Linked DNA regions of Homo sapiens: region 2 is linked to region 1. Evidence: promoter capture Hi-C in 16 types of primary human blood cells and fetal thymus (Javierre and others, 2016). All regions are on one chromosome and are shown on one strand. The core of a region is centred on a gene start or on the middle of the fragment in contact, and the rest is flanking DNA. Distances in the headings are between cores, read along the strand shown. Region 1 holds the start of ERVW-1 (endogenous retrovirus group W member 1, envelope). Region 2 has its middle 46 kb from the start of MTERF1.

Region 1 (3,255 bases), core at 699-3,198:
TCTTATTCGGACCTTGTGTCTTCCGTTTAGTTTTTCAATTCATACAAAACCGCATCCAGGCCATCACCAATCGTTCTATACAATAAATGCTCCTTCTAACAACCCCACAATATCGCCCCTTACCACAAAATCTTCCTTCAGCTTAATCTCTCCCACTCTAGGTTCCCATGCCGCCCATAATCCCTCTCGAAGCAGCCCTGAGAAACATAGCCCATTATCTCTCCATACCACCCCCAAAATTTTTGCTGCCCCAACACTTCAACACTATTTTACATTATTTTTCTTATTAATATAAGAAGACAGCAATGTCAGGCCTCTGAGCCCAAGCCATCATATCCCCTGTGACCTGCACATATACATCCAGATGGCCTGAAGTAACTGAAGAATCACAAAAGAAGTGAAAATGGCCTGTTCCTGCCTTAACCGATGACATTCCACCACTGTGATTTGTTCCTGCCCCACCTTAACTGAGCAATTAACCTTGGGAAATTCCTTCTCCTGGCTCAAAACCTCCCCCACTGAGCACCTTGTGACCCCTGCCCCTCCACTACCCACCCAAATCCTATAAAATGGCCCCACCCCATCTCCCTTAGCTGACTCCTTTTTTGGACTCAGCCCGCCTGCACCCAGGTGAAATAAACAGCCTTGTTGCTCACACAAAGCCTGTTTGGTGGACTCTCTTCACAGGGACGGGGGTGACAACAACACGGACACACATGGAGTGGTTTTAAGGAGCAGAGAGTTTAATACGCAAAAAAGAAGGAAGAGGCTCCCCTGTACAGACACAGAGGGAGGGGGCTCCAAGCCGAGAGAAGGAAACCCCATGTGCAGTGGAAAAGTGGTTGATTATACTGGGAGGCTGGAGGAGGCGGTGTCTGATTTGCACAGGGCCCAGGGGATTGGGTTGACCAGGTGTATCATTCATGTACCCCGCAAAAAACCTGGCCCTCCCACCTCAGCCCTTTAATATGCAAATGTGGGTTGCCATGATGTTCTGAAAACACATGAATTATCTGGAGGGGGCCATGACACTTGGTACATGTGCTGACAAGAAGAGGGTGGGAATCGCCATGGTGGCCATGTTGGGTGGACCTAGTTTTTAATAGCCTGCATTTGCATATCAAAGTTTGCTGGCCTGGCTCTTTAAGCTGTCTTTTCTGTTAGAAAAGGAATGGTTTGGAATGGGTGAGGGTTGCTTCTTATTACAAGAAAATTTCCAAAAACCTTTACTCTTTCTAGCTGCCAAAAAACTATTTCTTAATAACTTATGTATTACCATAATTAGGCAGCACCAAAGATCCCTGCAGGTCAGACCACTGCAATTAACATGCTGGCTTTACTGCTGATTATGGTAGCTGCATCCACCTAGCCTCTCATATTGCAACTGCCTGACCTCTGCCACCCCACGAGCCACTTATCCCCACTTATAATCAGCCCATTTCGATTGTAACATCTGCCACTTATTCCCGACGTTGTGGTATATCCTATAGATGAATTCATTCAACATCCATTCCAACACCACCTCTCTTGCCTTCCTATACTCTCTGGAGAGTGAATTACTGAGTCACATGATCTTCACTGCAGTCATTTGTGGCTATGTGACATAGTTCTGGACAGTGAACATAGACAGAAGTCCCTGGGGCGGGCTTCCTTTCTGGGATGAGGGCAAAACGCCTGGAGATACAGCAATTATCTTGCAACTGAGAGACAGGACTAGCTGGATTTCCTAGGCCGACTAAGAATCCCTAAGCCTAGCTGGGAAGGTGACCACGTCCACCTTTAAACACGGGGCTTGCAACTTAGCTCACACCTGACCAATCAGAGAGCTCACTAAAATGCTAATTAGGCAAAGACAGGAGGTAAAGAAATAGCCAATCATCTATTGCCTGAGAGCACAGCAGGAGGGACAACAATCGGGATATAAACCCAGGCATTCGAGCTGGCAACAGCAGCCCCCCTTTGGGTCCCTTCCCTTTGTATGGGAGCTGTTTTCATGCTATTTCACTCTATTAAATCTTGCAACTGCACTCTTCTGGTCCATGTTTCTTACGGCTCGAGCTGAGCTTTTGCTCACCGTCCACCACTGCTGTTTGCCACCACCGCAGACCTGCCGCTGACTCCCATCCCTCTGGATCCTGCAGGGTGTCCGCTGTGCTCCTGATCCAGCGAGGCGCCCATTGCCGCTCCCAATTGGGCTAAAGGCTTGCCATTGTTCCTGCACGGCTAAGTGCCTGGGTTTGTTCTAATTGAGCTGAACACTAGTCACTGGGTTCCATGGTTCTCTTCTGTGACCCACGGCTTCTAATAGAACTATAACACTTACCACATGGCCCAAGATTCCATTCCTTGGAATCCGTGAGGCCAAGAACTCCAGGTCAGAGAATACGAGGCTTGCCACCATCTTGGAAGCGGCCTGCTACCATCTTGGAAGTGGTTCACCACCATCTTGGGAGCTCTGTGAGCAAGGACCCCCCGGTAACATTTTGGCAACCACGAACGGACATCCAAAGTGGTGAGTAATATTGGACCACTTTCACTTGCTATTCTGTCCTATCCTTCCTTAGAATTGGAGGAAAATACCGGGCACTTGTCGGCCAGTTAAAAACGATTAGTGTGGCCACCGGACTTAAGACTCAGGTGTGAGGCTATCTGGGGAAGGGCTTTCTAACAACCCCCAACCCTTCTGGGTTGGGGACTTGGTTTGCCTCAAGCCAGCTTCCACTTTCAGTTTTCTTGGGGAAGCCGAGGGCCGACTAGAGGCAGAAAGCTGTCGTCCTGAACTCCCGGCAGTAGCCGGTTGAGATCATGGTGTAGCCAGAAGTCTCAACAGTCGCCCATGCATGCACCCCTATCTTTCCTTCTGACCCATACCTCCTGGGTCCCAACCACAACTTTCTTCAAAGTGTAGCCCCAAAATTCTCCTTACCTCTGAATATACTTCCTCTGATCCCTGCCTCCTAGGTACTATTGGTTCAGACTTCCATTTCCTCTAGCAAGTTGTATCTCCAAAGGGATCTAAGGAAGCTCTGCGCTGCGTCCTTAGGCACCTAGGCTATAACCCAGGGAGTCTTATCCCTGGTGTCCCTCCCAATTTAGGCATACAGCTCTTGACATGGGCAGTTATGTAGGACCCACTCCCCACCACCCTTGCCAGGGCCCCAAGTTTGTAAATGGCTGAGGGAAAAGAGAGACAGAGGAGAGAGAGAGAAATGGAGGAGAAAGAGAGAGAGACAGAGAGGAGAGAGAGACAGTGAG
Region 2 (3,319 bases), core at 360-2,859, 640 kb after region 1:
ATTCCTCATTATCTTGTATATATAATGGGGGGGGAAAAGCCAGTTCCAGCAGAACTTGAAACATGAATATAAAAGGCATTTTAAAATGTATTTTAAAAACTTCCTTAGAGAGGAAATATAGGGTTCCTTCTTTTGTAGCCTGAAGAGGAAGGTGAGTTCAACAGAAGGTCAAAATGAGGAGAAGTAGCCATTCCAGTCTTGCTTGGACAAAACCTTTATTATCTAACATTTCTATAGCTCTTTGTATTTTCCAAAGACCTTTACAAATGTATTTTTTCCCCCATGTAACAAGCTTTTGATCAAAGCAGGTTAGTATTCATCTTTACATTTTCTAGATGAGAGAAAAGAGTTCCAGAGAAGTGAAGTCACTTTTGCAGGTCCCAAGATGTATAAAAAGTAAAATGAGATTTTGAGCCTTTGACACGGAATTCTTGGTGTAATTACTGTGCAACATGTTATATCCTGTCTTGACTAAATTTTTACAAATGGGTTAAAAGAGTTCTTAATCTCAGAAGCCAACTCTGGAATTCTAAATAGAGGATACTCAGTGGGGAGGCTTGAGGTTTTATTAGAACAGATTTCTTTGGGCCAGCAGGCATAGAGGGCTGTGGTAAAGAGCTGATGTAGTTCAGAAACTTCAGAGAAGAAAGTCCCAGACTTCAGAGGAGGTGTTCTTTCAGTTACTTGTGGATTATGGTTGTATCTCTTTATAGAAGAAATCTGAGAGTGATGCTTGTAGGACTAGTAGCCAAGGAAGTGGTTCAGCTCAGCTGTTGATATTTGTGTCCAGTGCTCAGTTAGCTCTTCATGTGTTTGAATTCTTTTTTTCCTAGAGGAGAGAACCTGGCCAGTCTCCAATTTCTGAGACTCTAATTTAGGTTATATATTTCTCTGCAATGTGAATCTATTTCAAACTTGATGTAAGATTGCTCACTAGTGCATTGCCAAATACCCGATAGGCACCTCAGTAAATATTTATTAATGTTAATGATGAGAATAACCTTTTTAAATATTTGTGTTTGAAATATGTACTCTACCAATACTGCAATAGGGAAAGCTTTCAGGATAATTACATTTTGTATTTATATCCAGTGATTTATTCCTAAGATCTCAAATTTTGTTAGAGATATGATTATAGTATATATATTTTTTCAGACTTAAGGTTATTGGCAATTGTTAGTCCTGTTTAATAGATGAGGAGTGTAAAAAGAGACGGGGAGTGATTTGCAAAAAGTCTCACTGTGGATTGAAGTAAGATATGAAAGTTTAGATCTATGGTTCCAAATTTCACTAAAACGAGTCTAGCTCTGGGAACTAAACCAATGGTCAAGAAGTTGCAATGGGACATTGAATAACTCACGTATGTGGAACTATCCTCCTGATTAAAATTAATTTTGAAAAATGAATTTTTCTTTGACTCTATCTGTGAGGTGTGGCAGCTAGAGACTGTTTTTTCCCTATTAAATATAACCCATGATTGTTTAGTCCTGATGATTCAAATGGTAATATTATCTATTTATATTACTACTATTATTTTTTTCAAATCAGCCTAATAAATATAGAAATTGATCTTTTTTGTTTGTTTGTTTTAGAGAGGGGATCTCGCTGTGTTGCCCAGGCTAATGTCAAACCCCTGGCCTCAAGCGAACCTCCCACCTCAGCCTCCCAAAATGCTGGGATTATAGGCATGAGCCACCAAATCCAGTCAATATTTTACTTTTGAATATACAGATTCATAATTTTTAAAAGCACAGCAGTGGAAGTTACAATGATTAGTACTTTTCTTAATCAAAGTGGAAAATTGCTTTACTCATTATCTTAGAAATAAATTCAGTAGATATTTTAGAAATGAAGTGTCCCTACTTACTTTTATAACTTTTTGCATAAATAAAATGAGTAACTAGTCTATGTATTTAAAAATAATCAAAATAAATGCAATTTTTAGCTTTTTTTCTTATTAAAATTGTCATGTAAAACATCTCCTAGTATTATTTTTATCATTTGTTGTCATCAGCATTTCTCAAAAGGTGATCTGTAATTCACCTGCATCAGAGTCACCTGAGATATTTATTAAAATGTAGAGGTTAGTTTCCCACCCCAGCTCTACTGAACAAGACTCTTAGCACCAGACTCTAGACATCTGTATTTTAAATAAGCTTTTTAGGTTACAAGTACAACCTGCGAGTAATTCAGAATTGCTTCAGTGTGAGAGGCTGGGGAAGTAGAGACAGAGGCAAGGGAGATAAGCAAGGGAAAGCATGATATGCTGAGGTGTTCGGATCTTATCCTGGAGGTAGTAAGGATTTAAGATAGGCAGTAACATAAATTAACTGCATTCACTTTGAGTCGCATTTACTTTTTATCTAACAATTTTTTAGAGACAGGGTCTCGCTACATTGCCCAGGCTAGAGTGCAGTGGCTATTCACAAACTCAACAATTGTGCACTATAGGCTTGAATTCCTGGGCTCAAGTGATCCTCCCACCTCAGCCTCCCAAGTAGTTGGAATTACAGGTGAATATCACTGACCTTGGCTTTTGAGTTACTTTTATAAATTACTTATTTAGAGAAGAGTTAATCCCACTATCAAGAAAGATAGGTTAAACTAACTGCACATAAGATTGCATTCTTATTTAAGATTACTTTGAAGGGTATCAGATGTGTATAATTTATTATTCACTATCCTGGCCTTAGCAGTTCCAATTTGTTTTGCGTGTAAATGATAACTCATATAAACCACCATTATTTCCTATTATGATCCATATAAAAATTGAAGTATGGAAAAAGAAACTCAAGAACAAATTGGTAATATTATTAATATACATGCACAAATACAAAGCCGTGAGTAACTATAAATGCCGTAATTGTGTTAATGAAATGGAAAACATTCCTGATGCAGGTTGTCAGGGGCAGGTTGGAGCTTTACTCTGTGGAGACGGAGTTTCACTCTTGTTGCCCAGGCTGGAGTGCAATGGCTCGATCTCAACTCACCACAACCTCCGCCTTCCAGGTTCAAGCGATTCTCCTGCCTCAGCCTCCCAAGTAGCTGGGACTACAGGCATGTGCCACCATGCCCAGCTAATTTTGTATTTTTAGTAGAGATGGAGTTACTCCATGTTGGTCCGACTGGTCTCGAACTCCCGACCTCAGGTGATCTGCCCGCCTCGGCATCCCAAATCCAATGAATCATTCTGCTACCTTCTAAAGCATTGAAATTTTGGCTGCATCCAGCCTTCAGACACGATGGGGAGAAGTTACACAAGCTCTTAACCACCTGGAGGTGACACACATCACCCCCTCCTCCACACTGCTGGTGACAG

The links. Contacts are between HindIII fragments. The CHiCAGO score rates a contact against its expected background, and 5 or more counts as called.
Region 2: a fragment that was not itself captured here is called in contact with the fragment with the promoter of ERVW-1 in region 1 in 2 of 17 cell types (erythroblasts and naive CD8 T cells); the score reaches 6.0 in erythroblasts.

Annotation. Positions count from the first base shown.
Region 1 is chr7:92,476,639-92,479,893 of GRCh38, reverse strand. ERVW-1 (endogenous retrovirus group W member 1, envelope) reads left to right here and starts at 1,948. Exons shown (of 2, transcript NM_001130925.2): 1 at 1,948-2,512. It also overlaps a transcript of GATAD1 not described here. RefSeq lists enhancers at 1,635-1,666, 1,264-1,694, 1,584-1,728, 1,706-2,625, 2,763-3,255 and 1 more, cis regulatory regions at 1,264-1,572, 1,573-1,634 and promoters at 1,659-2,019, 1,726-2,058. The HindIII fragment of the contact is 16,290 bases long and covers 1-3,255 here.
Region 2 is chr7:91,832,799-91,836,117 of GRCh38, reverse strand. No RefSeq gene overlaps it. Among named protein-coding and RNA genes, the nearest start is that of MTERF1, 46 kb to the left of the region's middle. The HindIII fragment of the contact is 1,099 bases long and covers 1,060-2,158 here.